Linked DNA regions of Homo sapiens: regions 1, 2, 4, 5, 6 and 7 are each linked to region 3. Evidence: promoter capture Hi-C in 16 types of primary human blood cells and fetal thymus (Javierre and others, 2016). All regions are on one chromosome and are shown on one strand. Each heading gives the region's core, a stretch centred on a gene start or on the middle of the fragment in contact. The rest is flanking DNA. Distances are from core to core; before and after follow the strand shown.

Region 1 (3,050 bases), core at 429-2,928, 790 kb before region 3:
CTGAGGACTGAAAGGCACTGCTTTGTGTTAAGCATGTTTTCTTTCTCTGCCAACTTTCTTTTAAAATGCATATGCCTCTGGAAGGATAACACATTGCATCAATGATTTTTATGCTAATACTCTTTTCAATATCTGATTAGTCAGTAACAATGACAACAACAAAGCAAAGGTTTTAAAAATGCTTAAAGGGTAAAAGGGAAAGGAAGAAATTAGAAGACAAGCATGTGCTGTTCGCAACTTCCTGGATCACAAGGGGCTTCTTCACCCTCCATTTCCTTCCCTAAGAGTTCCCAGAGCCCAGGCTCAGTTTCATGCCCAGAAACAGCAACAGAGATGCTAGGGCCCAACCGGTTTCAGAACTCACTGCCTCCCATAAAACTATGTCTCTTAATTCTGATGCAGATAATAACAAAGGCAGATGACCAAGCCAACAAACATTTTCCCCATGCCGCCTTCCTTATATTAGTTGAATAAATGTAAGCATATTAGGTTCGTTGCCTGATGCACACAGCAAGTCACAAAGCCGAGACACCAGGTTGCAGCAGAGAAAAATGTTTAATCGTAGGGTCACTGAAAGAGGAGATAAGAGAAAACCTCAAATCCATGTCCCTGAGGAGTTTAGGGGTAGGGTTTTTAAGGGTTTTGGAGTGGACTAAAGTGTGGAGACCCTTGATTGGTCACAGAGCGCAAGGTGAAGTCACTTTCCTGAAGACAGGAAAATGAAGAAGCTGTATTTTCATGCTGATCCTGTTCCTCTGTGAGGGTCTTCAAACTGGTTGTTGGAATTCAGGATCTGAAAAACATCTCATGCAACTCTTAAACAAACTGTCACAGATCCTGTCTATAGGAACCATGGGAATGCAAATCAATTCTTAAACAGCCTTAAAATCCTAATGTCAGAAATCCTATCAATAGAAATAATGGAGATGCAAATGGTCAGTATCTAGTGCTGCCTGACTTTTAGCAACAAGGAAGTGGGCCAAAGTGCAGCCTAATTAATCTTTAATTATAACTATATTTCTGATCAGTATCTGGCATGCAATTCTTGTCAACCCTGTAAGGATGGTTTCCTAAAGGTATGGAGTGGTCCATCCATCATGTGAACCCTCCACAGACCCTGAAACTACCGTGGAAGATCAGATGAAGCTGATTCACATGCATTAGCCTCAGAAAATTCTACCAGGACACAATTCACCCTCTACAAAACAATGATGTATGGAGCCTACACAAGTCCTTATTCTTTACAAAGCTGAAACCTGAGAGGTAAAGCTACTTTCACTGAGCTCTGAAACATTTCAGACTCACTTAGTGGAACCCTAAAACATCAGTTACTCTGAGTCCACTGAATATTTTAAGTATTCAAATGCATCCTCCCTCTAAGCAACGCATAATAGACATTCATTATAATGTTTTTTGCATGTTAGTAAGATAGCTTTTCTGAGATAGAGGTTTCTGGTAGTAGTTTATTAAAATATTAGATATTAGACCACCTTGTAATTCTTACAGATTTGTTTATATTTTCCCTTTGTCCTCTGTATTAAAAGGAATAAAGGTTTTGAAGGTTTTTCCCTAAAAATAGAAATAATTTATTTAAAGAAAAAATAATTTAGACCTTGGTTGAAATTATTAGGCAATAAGAATTATATTTAACAATGTATTTTCAATTAATTTTTAATTAATCCAGATAAAATTATGAGAAGGGTATATTTGCCAAATATAAAAATGAATGATAACAGTATAAAGACAATTAGTCAAACAGACTGAGAAGCCAAAAATGAAATTACATCTAATACTTTTGTTAATGCAAAAGAACAAATGGTATCATATTTGGAAGGTTTTCTTTTGTAAAATTGCTTAATCAAGAGCCTGAGGCTTCAGTACTGTTGGACAGTAAAGTTAGACTGCTCCCCTCCCTAACATCCATTTGTATCGTAGCTTAGATCTTTAGCTAATTCTGTTAAATATTGATTTTCAACCACTGATTTACACAGGAGACCTGGAAGTGAAGCTATTTTTAATACTCTCCTTTCATTCCTCCAGGAGTCAGGCCATGGCTCAAGGACTCCATGGAGATATACATGTGTAGAAATACATGTCCAGTGGAATAGTTGTTGGATGGAAGTGAGATTTCAGGAAAATAGTAATGGACTCCTAAGAAGGAGCACACATTACGGGGTAAGGAGTAGGGACCAATGAATTAAAAATAGCCCTCCAGGATGAGGAAGGTAGAGGAGTATAGGCTCTGAGCCTACCATGTGGCTTAAAGAGAACCCCATAATTCTGTCACCCTGGAGTATCAGATGTGCCTTTGGAAAAAAAGGTGTGTGTGCGTGTGTGTGTGCACACACGCATGATCTGGAGAGCAGTGTCACTAAAAAACTATAGCTGTCTGCACTCTAGACAGGTTCACTGTGGGACACAACTTAATAAACAGACAGAAGTAACAAACAGCCTTTTATTTTGTCAAAACTGAATGAGCAAAGTATTGGAATATCTCTTATAAAATTTGCATTGCAATGGCAATGGCAGGAAATAACCCAAGACGCAAGAACCACTCCACAGAGCTGTCAGTAAAAGGCAGCATTGGCTCTTGCCAGCAGAAGAAGAGAGGATTTTGATGCTACAACCAGGGTTAACAAGTTTTGGCCACTTAAGGTTCTGGCACCTCCATGTGGCTTTCAGAAAGGTCAGTGTTGTTGCAGCTCAGTCTTTGACTACAGTTCAGCTTCTACTTTGGCTGTAGAGAAAATGCAGAGAATTATTATGTAGGCACCAATCTCAAGCCCTGGAGGTTTTGAAAAAATTGGAGGAGAAAACTTCCAGAAAGAACTGGAGATCAAATTTGTAAAGCAGATGAGGATTTTGGACCATCATTATTTCAACATACATGTAAATGTGGCCTTATTTATACATACTTTCTTTAAGGCTTATTACATGGTAGGTAATCACTAATCTGGTTTTCTAATTTGTCCCACTTCCCTACTACAAGGAAGGTCAAAAGAGTGAATGATACAGCTCAGACGTACAAATCCTATATTATTCAAATGGGT
Region 2 (3,355 bases), core at 113-2,612, 660 kb after region 3:
TAATTGCCGGATAACATCCCTCTAGACCTGATAAGGAAAACAGGGATCAAGGTCCCTTCTACTCTTACTGAAGCACACTTGCTATGCAGAGCTTAGCAACAAGATAAGGCCACTAAAATTAATACAAGGTCTGGATAAAAGAAGGAAAATTGCAAATTACCTACACCACAAATTTGCAGTGGGCCAGTTGCTGTAAACTATTCAACAGTACCCATTTCTTTGGTGTAAAGGAGCCCTGAAAATGTTTCCTACAGTGAAACATGCCAGTTACTTGGATTATGTACAAAATAAAGTTAATAACAGAAATAAAATAACTCCTCCAAATATTCAAATACACTGCCTTGAAATGAGCTGTATTTTCCCCATGTATTTGCTATTAAGCAATTTCTGAAAGGTAATGAAAAACAAACTACAATTTTAAAAATGTTTCTTCAAAGCCAATTTCCTATTTGTAGTAAATTAATGTGAGAGCTATCTAAAGGAATTCTCCTCATGATAACCATAAACTTAAAGTACAGTTTGGAGAAGTAAAAGTAGAAAATACAAAACTAACATTTATAAAAAGAACTTTATTTACCATACTATTGTCTAAGCAGACAGACTTTCCTTTTCGATGCCCAGTAGAATGCTTTACATTTTGCACATGTAATTGCAAATTCATCATTTTATTCTCCCAGTCACGAGATGGGTCAAAATTACTGAGCCATTTGCAGATGCGGACACTCAGACTCAAACACTTTAAATAATTAGTTGAAAGTCCCACAACTGATAAATTATATGTTGAACCAAATCATTTTTTAATTTATGCATTTATTCCCAATTTAAGAAGACAAATTTAGCAAAAAAAATCTGTGCCAGGAACAGTGCTACAGTCCCTGAAGCTCACTGTTTAGTGAAAGAGACAGATGCAGAAACAAGTAATTCAAATGTCAAAATTGCAACAACAGCAATATATATACTATATTTTTGGGTCACAGGGAAAAGGCAGGTAAAGGAAGGGTTCCTAGAGGAGAAGATATGTGGGCCAAGCCTTAAACACTACATAGGCATCAGCCACACAAAGGAAACAAAGACGAAGATGGGGTGGGATAGTGTTTAGATGAGAGCAGCAGTTGGATTTGGGGGACTGTAAAGTATCGGATGGGAAGATATAAGAGGTATAAGCGGGAACCAGATCATGAAGGGCCTAGTAAGGACCAATAGGATGTTTTATTGTTTTGGAAGTGCCTAAAGGGGGCAGGTGGTCAGATTTTTCACCTTAGGTATGGCCGTGTACAAGGACAATTTTAAGGCAACAATATTGAAGATGAAGAGATTGTTCAGGAGCCATGGCAGAATACAAGGGAGAACGAGGACCCAAACCAGGAGCTGGTGGAGTTGGGGATGAGGATGGAAAAGAAGGAATGTGGTCAAGAAATACTTAGGAGGTAAAATAGACAGAACATGGGGTGATTGATCAGAATGTAAAGGAAAGGGAACAAAATCAAGGACAGCTCTCAGGTTTTCAGCTTGGGAGACTTGGTAGGTTGTAGAAACACTGACTGAAGTGGAGGTTACAGGGGGAAGCTGTTCAGTACAGTTTGGGGTGCCTGTAGGATAGGCTGGACATACGTGTCTGAAACTGGGGAGAAGTGGTATTTGACAGTATACAAATGACTGCAGTCACACAAAGATACTTTGACCAATTTGAAGAATAGTAGGCTAAGGATTGAACATGCAATAGAATGAAGAAGATGGGAAGAATGGTCAGTGAGGAGGAGGAGAATCAGGGAAAGTAGACAGAGTCTCAGAAGTCAAAGACTGATAAAATGATCAACAGAGGTGCAGTAAGACAAGAACTGAAAAATCCCCATCAGATTGGGCAATTTGAAGGTCACTGGTAAACTTCAGTGAGAACAGTTTCCAGTAGAGTGATGGGTATACACACAAAATGGCTATTAAATAAGAATAAGGAAATAGGGAGAGGAGATGTAGATTATTTACTCTTCTTTCTACCCATAATGTGAAAAATTCCTGAAAAATAACGAAGAAAGAATTTTTAAAATGACAAAGATTTGACTACTTTTGTAGACTGAGGGGAAGAAGAAAAGAGGAAAAGGCTGAAAAAGGAAGGTGTCATTTGGAGCAAGATAATTAAGAGGTTGGTTTTTCACCTGGACTCAAGTCCTGTTTCTACCACTTCATAGCTGTGTGTTCGTAATCTCCCTGGGCCTAAATTCTTCATTTCTAAAATGGGCATAATCCTATTTTAGGATTGTTATAACATAGATAATATAGAGAGAGCCTCAGCACAGTACTTGGCACATGGCATTTAGTAAATAGCTATTTTTCTTATAAAGATACAGGTGAAAGAAAGAAAATTATCTGTTATTTTTGCCAGTTGAAACATTCTACCACCATATTAGATGTTTGGTATTTTATATAGTCATTTTAATCCTCAGTATCCTCAATCAAACTGTACAACAAATAAATATCTTTAAACATATGTTCTAATTATATCCTAGTAGTAACATATTTATTTAATACATTACTTAGGGCAATTTTGTACTTAAAAGCAGAAATAGCTTTATTAAAGAAAAATTCCACAGCTTTTACATATGTTATAGTTTTCATTTAAGCGAGGAGCAAATCTTCTGTCTATATGTACGTATACATTTCTTGGGAAACCTGATTTTTTGTGAAGCTGGAAAACAATAAAGTGATTAAGTAAATCACATTTTCACTTTAAAACCAAGGAATGATACTTACCATGTTAAATTTCCTGAGATCTGCATACATTCCCCATGGATTCAGTTTCAGAGCTCAGGGTTTTTGACTTTTAGGTCTCACCCAAATTTGTTACATACTGTATGAAGTGAGTCACTTAAACTCTGAACTGACAGTGTAGAACAACTTGCAATTTCTCATTTCCCTTCTATTTCTTGTACTACTCATAGAGGTGTACCTGGCTTTTTAAAAAATTAGTGAAGATAAAGATAATGTGTGACAGTGTAGGCAATGAAGTTGAGAAGTGGCAATTATCTCCATTAATAATTAGAAATGTGATTATATGAACATCTATTACTTAATCAAGTAGGTTTTAGAGTGTCCATTAGTAAAAATGTTTATTATTAAATGTCAGCAGGGAATAGAAAATAGTAGAAGAAACTCCACAGGGAGGCCCTCTGGACTGAAAGACTGAATTTTGACTAATTGTTCATTTCTTGAATTCATAGAGCTTTTTCTTCCTCTTTTAAGTTCATTCTTCCCTGACCTGACCAGTAGCTGGTCTGCAGATATGACATCTGGGAGAGTCTCTCTTTACCTCTCAAATCTCATGATATATACAAATAATTTCATGCCCCACATCTATGTA
Region 3 (2,986 bases), core at 279-2,778:
CCTAGCACACCAGCTTGTAAGCAATCGACATGGATTAAGGGGTAAAAACAGGCCCTTAAATAGCTAAAATTTTGACAAGTAATCACTTGTCTGATCATCAAATATGTCGTTCGAAATCCTCATTTTTTTCTTCAAAGCGCAGTAAACAAGTATTTGCGCACCTATTACGTGCAAAACAGTTTTCAACACAATGCTTTGTGTGTAAAAGGAACGGCGGGAATGGATTCAAGTTGCGCATCGTGATAAATGGCGTGAATATCCTGAGCGGGTGGACAGCCCTTCCTCCGTGAGTTTTTTCTTTTTCTTTTCTAGTCACCAAGACAGCACGCGTGTGCAGAAGCTGCAGCGGTGGGACGCAGTGCTAAGTCTGGGGGCGCACACACCAGCTCGCGCGTCGCGAGCTCGCCTGGGCAGCTCGGCGGGCGCGGCGAAACAGCTCCCACGTCCGCCTTCCACCGACTCCTCGGTATCAGAGCGGACGAGGCGTCCCCCCAGAGGAAAGACTGGGCGCCGCAGACGCCCCTTGGAGAAGTCCCTGGCCACTCGCCCCACCTCGGGGTCCTCTTCCTCTTGGGCTTCTCCTGACCCTTTGGGTGGGCGCTCCAGACAGGCCCGTCGGACGCGATTTGGAAACGGGTCGTGCCCGGCCTAGCCCGCATCTACTCGCCCGGCCACAGCCCAGCCACAGCTTAGGGACTTTGAGGCGCCCGCGCCCCTTTGTCGCGGTATCTCTAGCCCAAGCAGGCCGGACGCCGAGGCCTCGCGGTATCGAGCCTCCGTCCGCCCCGCCTCCTCGCCCTCCACTCCGCCCCGCCCTCGCTCTCTCACCCCTCCCCCGCTCCCGCCTCGCTTCCCCGACAATCTCCTCGCGCTCCCGGCCCGGCACGCGCGCTGCGCCCGGCCGCCGCTGCCGCCGCCGCCGCCGCCGCCGCTGCCGCCGAGCGTTCCTCCGCTGCGCCTGGCTTCCAGCTTCGGGCCGGAACCGGAAGTTTGGGGGGCGGAGCCCGGCGGAGGCCAGGAGACCGAAAACGCGGCCGAGCCCGGAGCCCGGAGCTGGAGCCAGAGCCTGGACCAGAACTTGGCCGCCGCCTGCACCGCCGCCGCCGCTGCCGCCCGCCGCCCCTTCCCCGCGCCGCAGCCGCCTCGCCGCCACCGCCGCGAGCTCGGCCGCCAGTGGTCCTCGGACTTTAGGTGTCTGGGTTGAAGGTCGGTCCGGACATCGGACCCAGTCAGTTCCCAGACTGTCCGGGCGGCAGCGGACGCCGCTGCCGCCGCCGCCTCTTCGTCGCCTCAGCCTGGCGTTTTGTTCCGAGAGACGGGAGAGGCGAGCGGAGCTGACAGTGATTTTGACAGTGATTTAAACCCGCTTTTGTTGTTGTTGGCTTTTCGTTGTTTGGTTTTGTGTGTTGTGCGTGTGTGTGGCGGTTTTTCCCCCGTGGTGCATTTTATTTTTTATCGTTGTGCTCTTTTTTTTCTTTTTTTTTTTTAACCCAGTGAGCGTTTTTTTTTTTTTTTTTTTTTTTTTTTGGTCTGGGCTTCCGAATATGTTTTATGACGGTTGATTTTACACCAGGAGGTTTGTCTCCGAGGAAGACCCAGGGAACTGGATATCTAGCGAGAACTTCCTCCGGATTCCCCGGCGCCTCGGGAAAATGGGAGCTGCTGCAAAGTTGGCGTTTGCCGTCTTTCTTATCTCCTGTTCTTCAGGTAGGTGCAGGGAGCGCGGCGCGGTGGGGCTGCTCCTGCGGCCGCGGCGGCCGCTGCTGGGGGCCGCGGCTGGTGTTGAGTCGGAGAGTCCAGTGGAGCCTGGGGAGGTTGCCCACTCCCTGCGCCCCTCGGCTGCCACCGCCCCCCCCCCCCGCCCCCAGGTCTGATTGTGATCTGGAAACCTCCATGCATTTTTCTCTTTTTGAGTTGGGTCGGCGAGCTGATAAGAGTGAGTGCTGTGTTGTTGTGGAAGTGAGAAAGTCATGTTTTGTGGCCATAACACTGGATGACAGCGCTGGTTGGGTTGCAATTAAGCCGCAAATACCACAAGTGACAATTTATGCAAAGGTTGAGATCTGAAAGGAGTATTTAGTGTGGGCTCCTCCAAAACAAGGGTTGCTTTTTGTCATCGTTTAATTAGTGCTTCACCGGTGAATATCACGACATAGATCAAGCCAGTTGCTGCTTAATTTTGGCTGTGGGAAACAATACATCCTATCAGCAATTTAATCTGGGTCTCCCCTCACGTTTTCTTCAACTTCAGCGTCCAGCAGTGTTAAAAATAGTTGTAGTTGTTGTTGGAGTATTAACTATAACCCAGTGCAGAAGAGGTATGCCGCTTGGTATTGGTAATGTGCTGGCGTTCAACCACCATTTGTGTGCTCTTTTGGGGCATAGATTTTGCTTACCTACGGAATACTTATTTTAAACGCTTTGTATTGAAGCATTGTTTTCGGTTTAGAACAACCCATGTGAAATTGTTTTTGTTAAATATAGTACACTCATAAAATAGGTTTTAGCTCAAGGTTGGGGGAATAAACGGGCCATTTTATATTGGAAATTTTGATTTTGTGAGGACGTTCTATGGTTGCAACCAGTGGTTGGAAAAACTATCTAGTCTTTTGTATTTGAAATTCTATAAATAAATACAGCATCTAGCTGAAAGGTGTGCAGATGTACATAACAGGAGAGTTAGTTCAATAGATGAAACATTTTAAATAAGTCTCATTGGATCTATTTATTGTAAAATTTAATATTCAGTTACAAGCTTGTGGCATAGAATTACGGGGGACTCTTGGAAACGGGGGCGAATTGACAGGTTTCATGGCCATGTCTTTATCTCGTTTGCCACAGGAAAATTAAAGGGTGGTAGTCTTCTTTGTGTACCTCTGTGGGGTGTGTGTGTGTGTGTTTGTGTGTTTGTGTCCGTCTTCCCCACCCCCCTTTAAATATAATCTTTTGTAATGTATAGAATTTTGCTGAATGGTACATTTCCTTG
Region 4 (3,029 bases), core at 302-2,801, 960 kb before region 3:
ATAGATTATCTATTTATTGTTCATTTCTAAACCTTAGGATTCCGAAATCTTCAGCAAAATAAATTACTCAACAGGTAACTAATAGTGTGGCTGAAGGAGGGACAGGAGTTGTTTTGATTATTTCATTTGTTTCTATGAGACCTGTTTGGAAAGCTAGGCTGGCAGAAGCACAGCATTTTTACAGATACCCCATCAACTAAAAATGCATATGTATAGAAAAAGAGAGATCACTGATATTATATATATAATACACATGCATGCATGCATATATACACATAATGTATACATATGAACATATATGCATGTGTATACATATAGATATATGAAATATAGATCTATATCTACATTATATATTATGTATTAGGAAATACAGATGTATAAAATGAAAGTATTTTAGTAAATGGCTGAATCTAGAATTCCCAAGTAAAGCTGTAATTGTCACTTCCCTCTTTATTCTGTGCAGATACTAAGGAACCATTATCAAAGGGCCAGTAATCCTTTGGCCATTTTTTTATTTTTCATTTTCTAAGGATAGCTTGTTTTGTAAGTTTCCTCTATGTTATTGGCATTATGTTACTGGAAAGCTTTTAATTCAATAAATATTTGGCAAGTATATATTGTGCCAAGAATAGAGATATTAATTTTTAGAAAGACTCAAGCATGAGACATAAACGTTTGAAAGAATGAGTCGTACTTTGGAAAGTACAATATAACAAGAGCAGTGCCTACTTTGTTTGTGCAAAAAAGGAGGTAATTAACATTACCTGAGAGGGATCAAGAGATGGCTTTTCAGAAGGTGACCTGCAACATCGATATCTGTCCTCCAGAGAGAAGAAAGAAGGTTTTCTTCAGAAGGGAAGATCATGTGCTAAGCAACAGGAATTTGGAGGCACTAGGTAAAAGAGAAAGTTCAAGAAAACTTAGGGTTTTTCATTCTACAAGAAGATAATTGGACTGCTACCTTATTTCCATCTCTTGCATGTGTAGCCACAGAAGGAGCAGTTGCATTTTCTTTTAGCACCTCATCTTGACTCTAATTCTACTCTAAATGTATCTGCTATAGATTAGCCTATTTTTGTTTCCATATGTACCTTTACGATAAGACTGATAATAAATATCCAGTGATAATCTCTCCATTTATTCAATAAATATTTATTGAACTACATTGTATTAGTTTCTATATATAAAGGTGATTATTTCAAAGACTTCTTTAATTAATTAATTAATTTAGAGACAATGTGTCACTCTGTTGTCCAGGCTGGAGTGCAGTGGCACGACCTTGGCTCACTGCAACCTGTGCCTCCCGGGTTCAAGCAATTCACCTGTCTCAGCCTCCTGAGTAGCTGGGACTACAGGTGCGTACCACCATGCCTGGCTAATGGTTTGTATTTTTAGTAGAGATGGGGTTTCACCATGTTAGACAAGATGATCTCAATCTCCTGACCTCATAATCTGCCTGCCTCGGCCTCCTAAAGTGCTGGATTACAGGCATGAGTCACCGCGTCTGGCCTTTAAATTTCTTACATTTACTACACAGCCCTTCTACATTCTTTTGGGCGGGGGGGGGGGGGGGGGGGACTAGCTCCAAAGAGATTTCTCTATTGCTCTAATAAATCCATTCTTCTAGCTAAAATTGGTTATCTTCTGTTGCTCAGTTTCTCCAACTCTGCCTCAGTGCTCCTGTCAAGAACGCCTCTGCCATCTCATCTACAATAATCTATCACTTAACAATGGGGATATGTTCTGAGGCATATTGTTAAGCAACTTCATCACTACATGAACATCACTTATACAAACCTAGATGGTGTAGTCTACTACACACCTAGGCTATGTGATGCAGCATATTGTTTCTAAGCTACAAACCTGTACAACATGTTGCTGTACTGAATACTGCAGGCAATTTTAACACAATAAGTATTTGTGTATCTCAACACAGAAAAAGCACAGTAGAAACACAGTATTAGAATCCGACAGACCACTGTCATATATGTGGTCTGTTGTTCACTGAAACATCATTATGAGACACATGACTGTAAAAGCACCAAGCCTTGTCTTTACCAAGTCTCACGTTTTCTTTCTCCAAGGAGATTTTTCTAGAACAACCCAACCCAATTGTTTTCTTTCCCTTTCAAATCTACTGCCTTGAATTTTACTGTTTAAATACTTTCTCCTTATCTTTCTTCCTAGATATTAATCATCTTTAGGATTAGAACCTAAAGCGTAAGTCTAATTGTGCCCAGAATTGCTTCCTTCCAGTGGGTTCCTGGTCTCGTTGACTTCAAGAATGAAGCTGCAGACCCTCACAGTGAGTGTTAACAGCTCTTAAAGATGGTGTATCCTGAGTTTGTTCCTTCCAGGTGTTCAGATGTGCCTGGAGTTTCTTCCTTCTGGTGGGTTCGTGTTCTTGCTTACTTCAGGAGTGAAGCCACAGACCCCCGTGGTGAGTGTTACAGCTCATAAAGGTAGTGAGGACACAAACAGTGAGCAGCAGCAAGATTTATTGTTAAGGGCGAAAGAAAAAAGCTTCCACAACTTGGAAAGGGACCAGAGCGGTTTGCTGCTGCTGGCTCACGTGGCCAGCTTTTATTCCCTTATTTGGCCCCACCCACGTCCTGCTGATTGGTCCATTTTACAGAGTGCTGATTGGTCCATTTTACAGAGTGCTGACTGGTGCATTTACAAACCTTTAGCTAGACACAGAGTGCTGATTGGTGCGTTTTTACAGAGTGCTGATTGGTGCACTTACAAACCTTTAGCTAGACACAGAGTGCTGATTGGTCCATTTTTTACAGAGTCCTGATTGGTGCGTTTGCAAACCTTTAGCTAGACACAGAATGCTGATGTGGTACGCTTTTACAGAGCACTGATTGGTGTGTTTACAATCCTTTAGCTAGACACACAGTGCTGACTGGTGCGTTTTTACAGAGTGCTGATTGGTGTATTTACAAACCTTTAGCTAGACACTGAGCACTGATTAGTGCGTTTTTATAGAGTGCTGATTGGTGCATTTACAATCCTTTAGCTAGACC
Region 5 (3,008 bases), core at 472-2,971, 750 kb before region 3:
AAAAAAAAATTAAAAGAGGCAAAGTAGTTGGCAATTCTAGTGTCGCCTGTAAGTTAATTTTCACTTTCCCACTACTGGCTTGTTAGTATTCTACTGTCTAAGAAAGTGATGTTCCCAGAAGCATCTCAAACATTGGAGCAGATCCTCTCAATGTGTAAGCTTTCCCTTGGGTCTAAATTATTTACCTTTGAAAGCTGCATAAACTCCTTCCAGAGGCTAAGAGACTGAGTGTAAATTGCAAAGTGCTTCTTTCACTTACTAAGTATAATTCGAGGGATTTGATGTACTTCTACCTACTGAAAAAGACTGACATTCACTTTCTTAAGCCTCCTCTTCCTCCCCCTGCAAATACACACACTAGAGCTTAGCTTTTCTAGCTAAGTTACACTTCGTGTACAATCCCATACCTGCCTGTTAACTCCTTTATTTTGGAATGCCATGGATTTGATTTTTCCAGTACTTACTTGCTTGTGTTGCTGAATTATTTGGTAAAGTTCCTTACTTTGCCCTATGCCAGTGTTTTCCATCTTTCCAACTGAACCCACAAAATGCACAGAAATAGAGATCACACTTTTTATTACTAATTATTGTCAATTAATGTAATTGGATCAATCATTGTTTTAGCATCTTTTTAAAATAAAAGACAAAATCACTGAATTATGAGTTCTAACGTTCTTCATAAAAAATTAGTAAGAAAACTGGAGAAGCCACTTCCTCATTATGAATTCATAGTTTTTGAATGTCTTCTGGGTTTCAGATACTCCTCCAGATTCCCTTGGCTTCTACTTTATCCAGCTAAACCATTGTTTAACCTGTTCAGCTAGTTTCATTTTTTTGTCTTCTAGACTGTTAAATCAGCCCACATTCTGCTCTAAAAAGTAAATTCTCCTGTAAAAATGGCTTACTTGCTTGTCTGGCTTTGCACTAGAAGGAACCTTATGGTTTATCAGATGTATAAAATACCTCCTTCCAAAGGATAAATTCTTCCTTAGAGCAACATTTTATCATGATTTCAGCAGTAGGAAGAGAGGAAAGAACAATGAGTATCAAAAAACCTGGAGAGAGGTTCATGTCTTAGTAGGAAAGAAATATTAGCTAATTTATAAAATAATTTGGGTTTATATTTCATTTTTTGCAGTTTATATTACATAGAAAGGAAATCTATGGCCGGGTGTGGTGGCTCAGGCCTGTAATCCCAGCACTTTGGGAGGCCAAGGCAGGTGGATCACAAGGTCAAGAGATCGAGACCATCCTGGCCAACATGGTGAAACCCCGTCTGTACTAAAAATACAAAAATTAGCTGGGCATGGTGGCGGGTGCCTGTAGTCCCAGCTACTCACTTGGGAGGCTGAGGCAGGAGAATCACTTGAACACAGGAGGTGGAGGTTGCAGTGAGCCAAGATGACGCCACTGCTCTCGAGCCTGGAGACAGGGCAAGACTCCGTCTCAAAAAAAAGAAAAGAGGAAATCTTGGCTAACTTAAGAGGGACCACACAAACAGATTGTCTTCTGAAAGGCTACCTATAAGTTTATGTGTTGGTAGGTTCAATAAGCTACTATACGCAGGGCATAGTACACTATGTTGGTGGAAAGCAAAGTTGACACATTTTTTCTTTGGAATGTAGCATTTCATTTATCTATGTACATTTTTAAGTGAAAGTTTCATAACAAGAGGGGCTTCTGTATCATGATTGAAAGTGTCAACACATGAAAATATTTACTTTATCATTTATCTTTGCCACAACAATGTTATGTAATAAGCAAACACAAACCTCAGGGACACCCACACCATTCAGTTTTGTTCAGGAGTCTGTGGGCTGGCTGGGTGGTTCTAAATTGGCTGATGTGGACTGAGCTTACGCATGTGTCTGTGATCAGGTACAGGTTGGCTAGGAGTTGGCCAGTTAAGGAAGGCCTCAGTTGGGCTGACTAACTCTGTTCCATTTGGTCTCTTGCCCTCCAGCAGACAGGCCTGGCTTATTCTCATGGTGGATATAAATGTCCAAGAACAGCAGAGGCACACAAAGATTCTTGAGGTTTAAGGTCAGAATCAGCACATCATCATTTCTGCCATATCCTGTTGGCCAAAGCAAACCATGAGGCCATCTCAGTTTAAGGGTGAAGAAAGAAATCATGTTCTGATGAGAGGAAATGCAAAGTCACTTTGCAAGAGGTGAATATATGGGAGTGCGGGGAATAATTGTAATCATTTTTTGCAGTCAATCTGCCATACCAATCTCCTGACATTCTTGAAGCAATTCAAACACATTTTCCTTTACTACATCAAATGAGGTAAAAAAAATATTTAATTTAAACAAATAATTCATCATGACTAAAGAAAAAAATGCCATACATTTGCCAGTGGGTCATGTTTGGTACACAATGCTAGCCTAATTTTCTCTTTTCCTAACATAAATAAATTTCAAAACCTCATGAAGTTCGACCAAGTAAGATTTTTGCATCTTACTTACCACTACATGTCTGTGTCTTGTTCATTTGTTTTTGAAGCTAATAGCAACAAAATCTTCATGGAGGGGAAATAAAAACATTGTTTCTATAAGATATGTATATATACATCCTCCTCTAACTAAAGGTAGTAATACCTAAGTCTGTCTTGACTTTCAGTGAGTCTTGGGACTAACCATATAACTGCATCTGCTCATAAACTCCAGGGCTATTCTATATAATTGCAGGCTTACAGACCCCTACTCCTGTTCCCTATTGAGAAATTCTATTCCCTATTCTCATTATAAAAAGTGCACAAAAATCTTAAATTACTGAGTCCCACATTTATTTCTACATGTGTAACTAATTAGACTTAGCATGATATTTTTAATGCAGTACATCAAGACAATGGCTGGAAATATTTCATTCCAGATATTTTCTTAACTATATAAATATTTGAGATCTAGATGGTTTTGAGAGAGCATCTTTTGTTGCTAGCAAACATGTCCTCCCTAAAGAAGAAAACCTTTTACAGGGACTAAGAATAGAGTATACCACTTATA
Region 6 (2,927 bases), core at 346-2,845, 810 kb before region 3:
GGGATTACAATCAAGATGAGAATTGTAATCATACAATCATACAATTGTACAATCATACAATCATACAATTGTAATCATACAATTACATATGTAATCATACAATCATACATACAGAGCCTAACCATATCACTATTTAACACCTGAAAGAAAATCAATCAGATATAAAGGAAAATGCAATATATATAGGAACATGGGAATTAATAATAGAGCAAAGTAATCAAGTCACCTACATCGTGCTGATGTTTACTGTCATCTTATACATGACTTTCTCTACTGGAAAATGTTACTTCAAAATTAAAACATCATAGTACTATGTTACTGAAAGACTTTTTTGAGAGTAGCAAAATTCTAGGTTTCATTTTTTCTCTCTCTCTCTCTTTTTTTTTTTTTAATTGAGACAGAGTCTCACTCCATTGCCCAGGCTGGAGTGCAGTGGTGCAATCTCGGCTCACTGCAACCTCCACCTCCCGGGTTCAAGCAATTCTCCTGCCTCAGCCGCCCGAGTAGCTGGGACTACAGGCACACACCGCCACACCTGGCCAACTTTTTTTATCTTAGTAGAGGCGAGGTTTCACCATGTTGCCCAGGCTGGTCTGGAACTCCTGAGCTGAGGCAATCCACCTGCCTCGGCCTCCCAAAGGGCTGGGATTACAGGCATGAGCTACCATGCCCGGCCCTAGGTTTCATTCTGATCTCAATTCTTCCCCCTTTGGCTAGAAGCTTAAAAAGCAGAGCTAGTTATGTCTTCAAGGTAGAGGAAATACGTGTTTATAATCACATGCAAGCTCAGTAGTGGTTGAGACTATTGTGGTCAGAATAAAAAGATGTCTAAAGAAGGGAGTGGTTGATAATGTCAAGTTAAAAGAGGATACAGGAGGCCCAGTCTCTAGTTCAACTGCAAAGTTTCACATATATTGAAAAGAAAACAGTGAGCAAGATAATTGCTAGGTTTTTTATTAATCTAAAATCATAGAAGATGAAAAAGAAAAATGGAGATTTGAGAAAGCACATGAGTTTCTTTGGATTTAATGCACTTACTAATTTTTAAATATTTTTAATGAATGAACAATCATCTTACCAACACTGAGTATCTCTAATATTGAGAATGTTGGTAGGTTGTGAAGGCATTTATTAGAACAAAGAGTGTATGTGTGTATATATATATATACACACACACAAATATGTGATAAGTAGAAAAATATAAAAATGTATCCATTTTAGTGTAGTGCAGTACACCTCAAATTTGGGTTCTGTAACCAACCAGCAGGAAGACATTGAGCAATTTACTTAACCATATGGCGATTCAGTTTCCTTGTCTGTGAAATGGGTAAATATCAACCTCACAAGATTATTATGAAGATTAAATGAATTAATATATGTAAACCAATGGGAATACAGCCTCGTACATAGCAGGCACTGTAGAAGGTTAGCTTATTTTTATTAAAACGGTAACACGGATGAGGAGCTTAAGTATCCCTAGGAGTTTTGTTAAAGAGAGCTAAAGTGTAAAGATGTGACACATGGGCTAAGAGGAGAGGTAGAAAGAAGAGAGTGAGGAGTTGGAAAAAACATTACAGGTACTGAGAACAGCTTTTGTCAGATGCAAAGATGAAAGTATAAACTCCTGGTAAGTTTGGTATTTCTAGAACTAAAGTGAAGAGACAGGGGAAAAATGCTAAAAGATTAGGCCAAAAAGGATAGGACCTCATCATTAAAGGCCTTGTGTGCCAACTAATACACTTTATTTTATTTTGTGTGGATGGAGAGATCCTAAATAGCTCTAAACAGGGAAATGACGTGATCACACTGGATTTATTTCTGGAAATGAAAAGATTGATTTTAGAATACCTTAACTGGAAGATTGAAAGACCATAGGCCTATGATTATTTCTGAAGTTAAATGACTATTAAAGGTTAATGTATAAATAAAAAATTAATTCACCAAGATTAGCTTCTTATCAATAAATGACAATTTAATGCCTGTATCTAAGTGCTTCCTATAGCAAGACTCTATGGTAAAAGATCCTGGGAGCCACTGTGACCATAATTTGTTCAAATCTAATAAAAAGGTTTAGTAAAATAGAATCTATATGAAAAATAGCAATGCGGACCAAATACTAAGCAGAGTGCTTAATCATTCAATAAAATTTACAGACCACCCACAAAACGTATATCTAAACTCTTTTCATGCAATGTAAATCATAAGCAATGTCATCTTACATTGGCATAATGCTGTATAAGCTACTTTCACTGCCACTCCTCCTTTTCCTGCTAAGATTAAAATTTCCATCTTATTAGAGAGGGTTGAACATTTCATTCACTAAGAAAACATTTTTAAGGTGCTTGGTATATGGCAGGCAGCATTCTAGTTGTTTTACAAATATTTGCTTTTTTAATTCACATAACAACCTTATGAGGTGGATGGTATTTTTAACCCCATTATAATATTAGGAAATTGAACTATAGATAAAGAAGCTTGCCCAAGGTCATTAGGCAAAGGCAAAATTTGAATCTACATAATCTAGCTTCTAAGCCAAGCTCTTAATCACTAGATGTACCCTCTCTCATACATGGAAAAATTTTATTCTAAAGGGAATTCTAGGTAACTTTAACAATTCAAAAAAGGCAACATTTTCCCCTTTTGTTTAATACTACTCTGACACTGCTAAAGATGTCTATGAGATGAAAATAATTCAACTTGTTTGTTCATAGATTTCCAAACTAATTGAGATCATCTCTCAGCTGTCTCTTCCATTTGCTTCTCTATAAGCAAAGAGACCACAAACTGACTTGAAAAGAAGACTATTTACTCTTTCCTTCTCCTTGTGTTCCAACAAATACCATTCCTACCCTGGCCTTGACACTAATTCCAAAAATCCAAGCTTCTATCTACTGAAGAAAGAACCTAGCCTTTCCTTGTGTAATTAA
Region 7 (3,012 bases), core at 447-2,946, 910 kb before region 3:
GACCATTCTGGCCTGCTACGCCCCTATCCTTTGCCCATAAAAACACCCAAGACCCTAGCAGGCAGACACACAGGCAGCTGGACATGGAGAGGAGCACAACACTCAGGTGGCTGGACATGGAGAGGAACTAACCGACAGGCACCAGCACACTGGCAGGCCACCAACCATCAGAAGCAGAAGAATGTGGAGTTTGGCTGAGGCAGTCGGAGGAGAGCCCAGGCTGCTGGGAGGCTCAACTCCAGAGGGAAACCTTCCCACTCCATCTCCTTCTGACTTCCCCCATCTGCTGAGAGCTACCTCCACTCGATGAAACCTTGCACTCATTCTCCAAGCCCAAATGTGATTTGATTCCTCTGGTACATCAAGGCAAGAACCTGGAATACAGAAAGCCCTCTGTCCTTTTGATAAGGTGGAGGGTCTAATTGAACTGGTTAAGACAAGCCACCTATACACGACAAAACTAAAAGAGCACCCTGTAACACATGCCCACTGGGGCTTCAGGAGCTGTAAACATTCACCCCTAGACACTGTCACGGGGTTAGGGCTCCACAGCCTGGTTATCTGTGTGCTTCCCCTAGAGGTTTGAGCAGCAGAGCACTGAAGAAACAAGCCACACCCACATCACATGCCCTGCAAGGGGGATAAGGGAACTTTTCCGTTTCAGTACCACTGCACCCCAGGTTGGGCGACAGAGCAAAACCCCGTCCCAAAAAATAAAAAAAAAGATTCACCAGGTGAATTAAAGCCTGAATAAGAATATATAAATATAGTTATAAAAGTTTGAGAGTCAAAAGAGAAAAGTGAATCATAAAGTTGCATAACCTAGCAACCATAGGTCTTTATATACTGTTGTTGTTTTCCCCCAGGAATCTAGAAAAATACCAATTTGAGTTTCAGTCTTCGCTTGAAGCTCCCTCACATATACTTTTTGGGTGATAAGGATATGAGTTTTGGTTTGATTTTTAAAGAATAATAATATACAAGAACCACAAAAAGCTATTAAATATTTTTAAAAAATAATGAACTACCAAAGGTATCCATTTGAATAAAATGTGAAATATACGACTGGCAGAAGGGGTGAAAAATCAAACTATAATTCAACAATTGAAGACCATGTATATTAATATTAAATATTACAAAAGCTTTATTTAAAGTAGTCCATAAATTAGTCACCAATTACTTTTAGTGATTTTTTAATTCTATTCAAAATACAGTCACATTGTTTTTAAAAATTAATAATGTTTCCAATAAGACACAGAGTTTAAATAACAATGGCAACAATGTTGGAGTTTCTCTAGTGAAAGAGCCAGAGTTTAAAAAATAGTTTAAAAAACAGATTTATCAATTTCAGAAATCTTAAACATGACTTCCCATAATCAATCTTTTTGATGTGTTCATTACAAAGTACCTGTTCACAATAAGCTGATGGCAGTGGAGATTACCATACTGAAAAAGGTAGAGGTTCTACTTTTTATAATTTAAAATAGTATTTGTTATTAGGTGGATTTTTTAAATTCAACTTTTATTTACATCCTATTATATAGAAGATGCTAAGCTACTTTTTAACTTTTAGCTTTTTAACTTTTACTTTTTACTTTTTAACTTTTTACTTTTAACTTTTTAACTTTCTACTTACTTTTTAACTTTTAACTTTCTATTTACTTTTTAACTTTTTACTTTTTAACTTTACTTTTTAACTTTTACTTTTTAACTTTTATATGGTTAGGCTAAATTTATATTTTCTAGCTAGTAAGAGGCGTAAGGAGGAATATATATATATATATATATATATATATATATATATATATATATCTGCATGACTTTCCGTTATCCAGTAACCAACGGGCTAAGTGTGTAGTCTTCATGAGGACATACTTATGAGTCATCCGTTATGTTTATAAACATGAAACAATAAAAGCAACTTTGAGAAAGAAGAACAAAGCTAGAGGCAGCACACTCTTAATTTCAAACTATATTACAAAACTGTAGTAATCAAAGCAGTATGTAATGACATAGAAACACTCACATAGATCAAAGGAACAAATTAGAGAGACCAGAAATAATACAACCATCTAATCTTTGATAAGGATACCAAGAATACACAATGGTGTTAGAAAAACTGAATATCTACACACCAAAGTATAATATTGGACCCTTGTCTTACACCACACACAAAAATTAACTCAAAATGAATTAAAAATTTACATGTAAATTCTGAAATCATAAAACTTCCAGAAGAAAACATAGGGAAGAAGCTTTTAGACACTGGCCTTAGCAATTATTTTTTGATATAACACCAAAAGAACAGGTGACTAAAGAAAAAAATAAGTAAGACTACATCAAACTAAAAAGCTTCTTCCTAGCAAAGGAACAATCAACAAAATGAAAAGGCAACACATGGAATGGGAGGAAATATTTGCAAACCATATATTTGATAAGGGGTTAACATCTACAATATATAAGAAACTAATGTAAGTCAATAGCAAAAATAAAAACAAAAACCTGATTTTAAAATGAGCAAAGGACCTGAATAGACATTTTTTCCAAAGGATACATGTAAATGGCCAAGAGGCAAATGAAAAGATTCTCAACATCACTAGTCATCAAAGAAAAGCAAATCAAAATCACAATGAAATATCACTTCATACCTGTTAAGATAGCTAGTACGAAATAAACAAGAGATAACAAGTGTTGGCAAGAGTGTGGAGAAAAGGAAACCCTTGTACATTGTTGGTAGGAATGTAAATTGGTACAGTTATTATGAAAAACAGTAGGAAAGTTCCTCCCGCAATTAAAAATAGAGCCTCCCATAAAATCCAGTAATCTTACCTCTAGGTATATATCCAAAGGATATTAAATCAATATCTCCAAAAAGATATCTGCACCCCCATGTTCACTGAAGCATTATTCACAAAAGCCGAGCTATGGAAACAACCTAAGTATCTAACAACAGAAGAATGAATTTAAAAATGCTGTACATATATACAATGAAATATTATCAGCTTAAAAAAA

What was found. The method cuts DNA at HindIII sites, captures the fragments that hold promoters and counts their contacts. A CHiCAGO score of 5 or more calls a contact.
Region 1: a contact is called between a fragment that was not itself captured here and the fragment with the promoter of ACVR2A in region 3, in 1 of 17 cell types (M2 macrophages). The highest score is 5.8, in M2 macrophages.
Region 2: a contact is called between a fragment that was not itself captured here and the fragment with the promoter of ACVR2A in region 3, in 1 of 17 cell types (total B cells). The highest score is 6.5, in total B cells.
Region 4: a contact is called between a fragment that was not itself captured here and the fragment with the promoter of ACVR2A in region 3, in 1 of 17 cell types (endothelial precursors). The highest score is 5.1, in endothelial precursors.
Region 5: a contact is called between a fragment that was not itself captured here and the fragment with the promoter of ACVR2A in region 3, in 5 of 17 cell types (M0 macrophages, M1 macrophages, M2 macrophages and 2 more). The highest score is 9.2, in M0 macrophages.
Region 6: a fragment that was not itself captured here is called in contact with the fragment with the promoter of ACVR2A in region 3 in 3 of 17 cell types (M1 macrophages, activated CD4 T cells and endothelial precursors); the score reaches 6.1 in M1 macrophages.
Region 7: a contact is called between a fragment that was not itself captured here and the fragment with the promoter of ACVR2A in region 3, in 1 of 17 cell types (endothelial precursors). The highest score is 5.6, in endothelial precursors.

Annotation. Positions count from the first base shown.
Region 1 is chr2:147,058,015-147,061,064 of GRCh38, forward strand. No RefSeq gene overlaps it. Among named protein-coding and RNA genes, the nearest start is that of LINC01911, 220 kb to the left of the region's middle. The HindIII fragment of the contact is 6,225 bases long and covers 1-3,050 here.
Region 2 is chr2:148,503,691-148,507,045 of GRCh38, forward strand. All of the region lies in intron 12 of MBD5 (methyl-CpG binding domain protein 5), which reads left to right. Among named protein-coding and RNA genes, the nearest start is that of EPC2, 140 kb to the right of the region's middle. The HindIII fragment of the contact is 8,569 bases long and covers 1-3,355 here.
Region 3 is chr2:147,843,501-147,846,486 of GRCh38, forward strand. It overlaps ACVR2A (activin A receptor type 2A), which reads left to right and starts at 1,529. Exons shown (of 11, transcript NM_001616.5): 1 at 1,529-1,707. The coding sequence starts at 1,653. RefSeq lists an enhancer at 1-629 and silencers at 756-945, 1,026-1,135, 1,891-1,970. The HindIII fragment of the contact is 3,923 bases long and covers 1-2,753 here.
Region 4 is chr2:146,878,595-146,881,623 of GRCh38, forward strand. No RefSeq gene overlaps it. Among named protein-coding and RNA genes, the nearest start is that of LINC01911, 42 kb to the left of the region's middle. The HindIII fragment of the contact is 1,939 bases long and covers 583-2,521 here.
Region 5 is chr2:147,090,888-147,093,895 of GRCh38, forward strand. No RefSeq gene overlaps it. Among named protein-coding and RNA genes, the nearest start is that of LINC01911, 250 kb to the left of the region's middle. The HindIII fragment of the contact is 3,129 bases long and covers 158-3,008 here.
Region 6 is chr2:147,036,461-147,039,387 of GRCh38, forward strand. No RefSeq gene overlaps it. Among named protein-coding and RNA genes, the nearest start is that of LINC01911, 200 kb to the left of the region's middle. The HindIII fragment of the contact is 1,754 bases long and covers 719-2,472 here.
Region 7 is chr2:146,930,722-146,933,733 of GRCh38, forward strand. All of the region lies in intron 2 of LOC107985824 (a long non-coding RNA gene), which reads right to left. Among named protein-coding and RNA genes, the nearest start is that of LINC01911, 95 kb to the left of the region's middle. The HindIII fragment of the contact is 1,113 bases long and covers 1,141-2,253 here.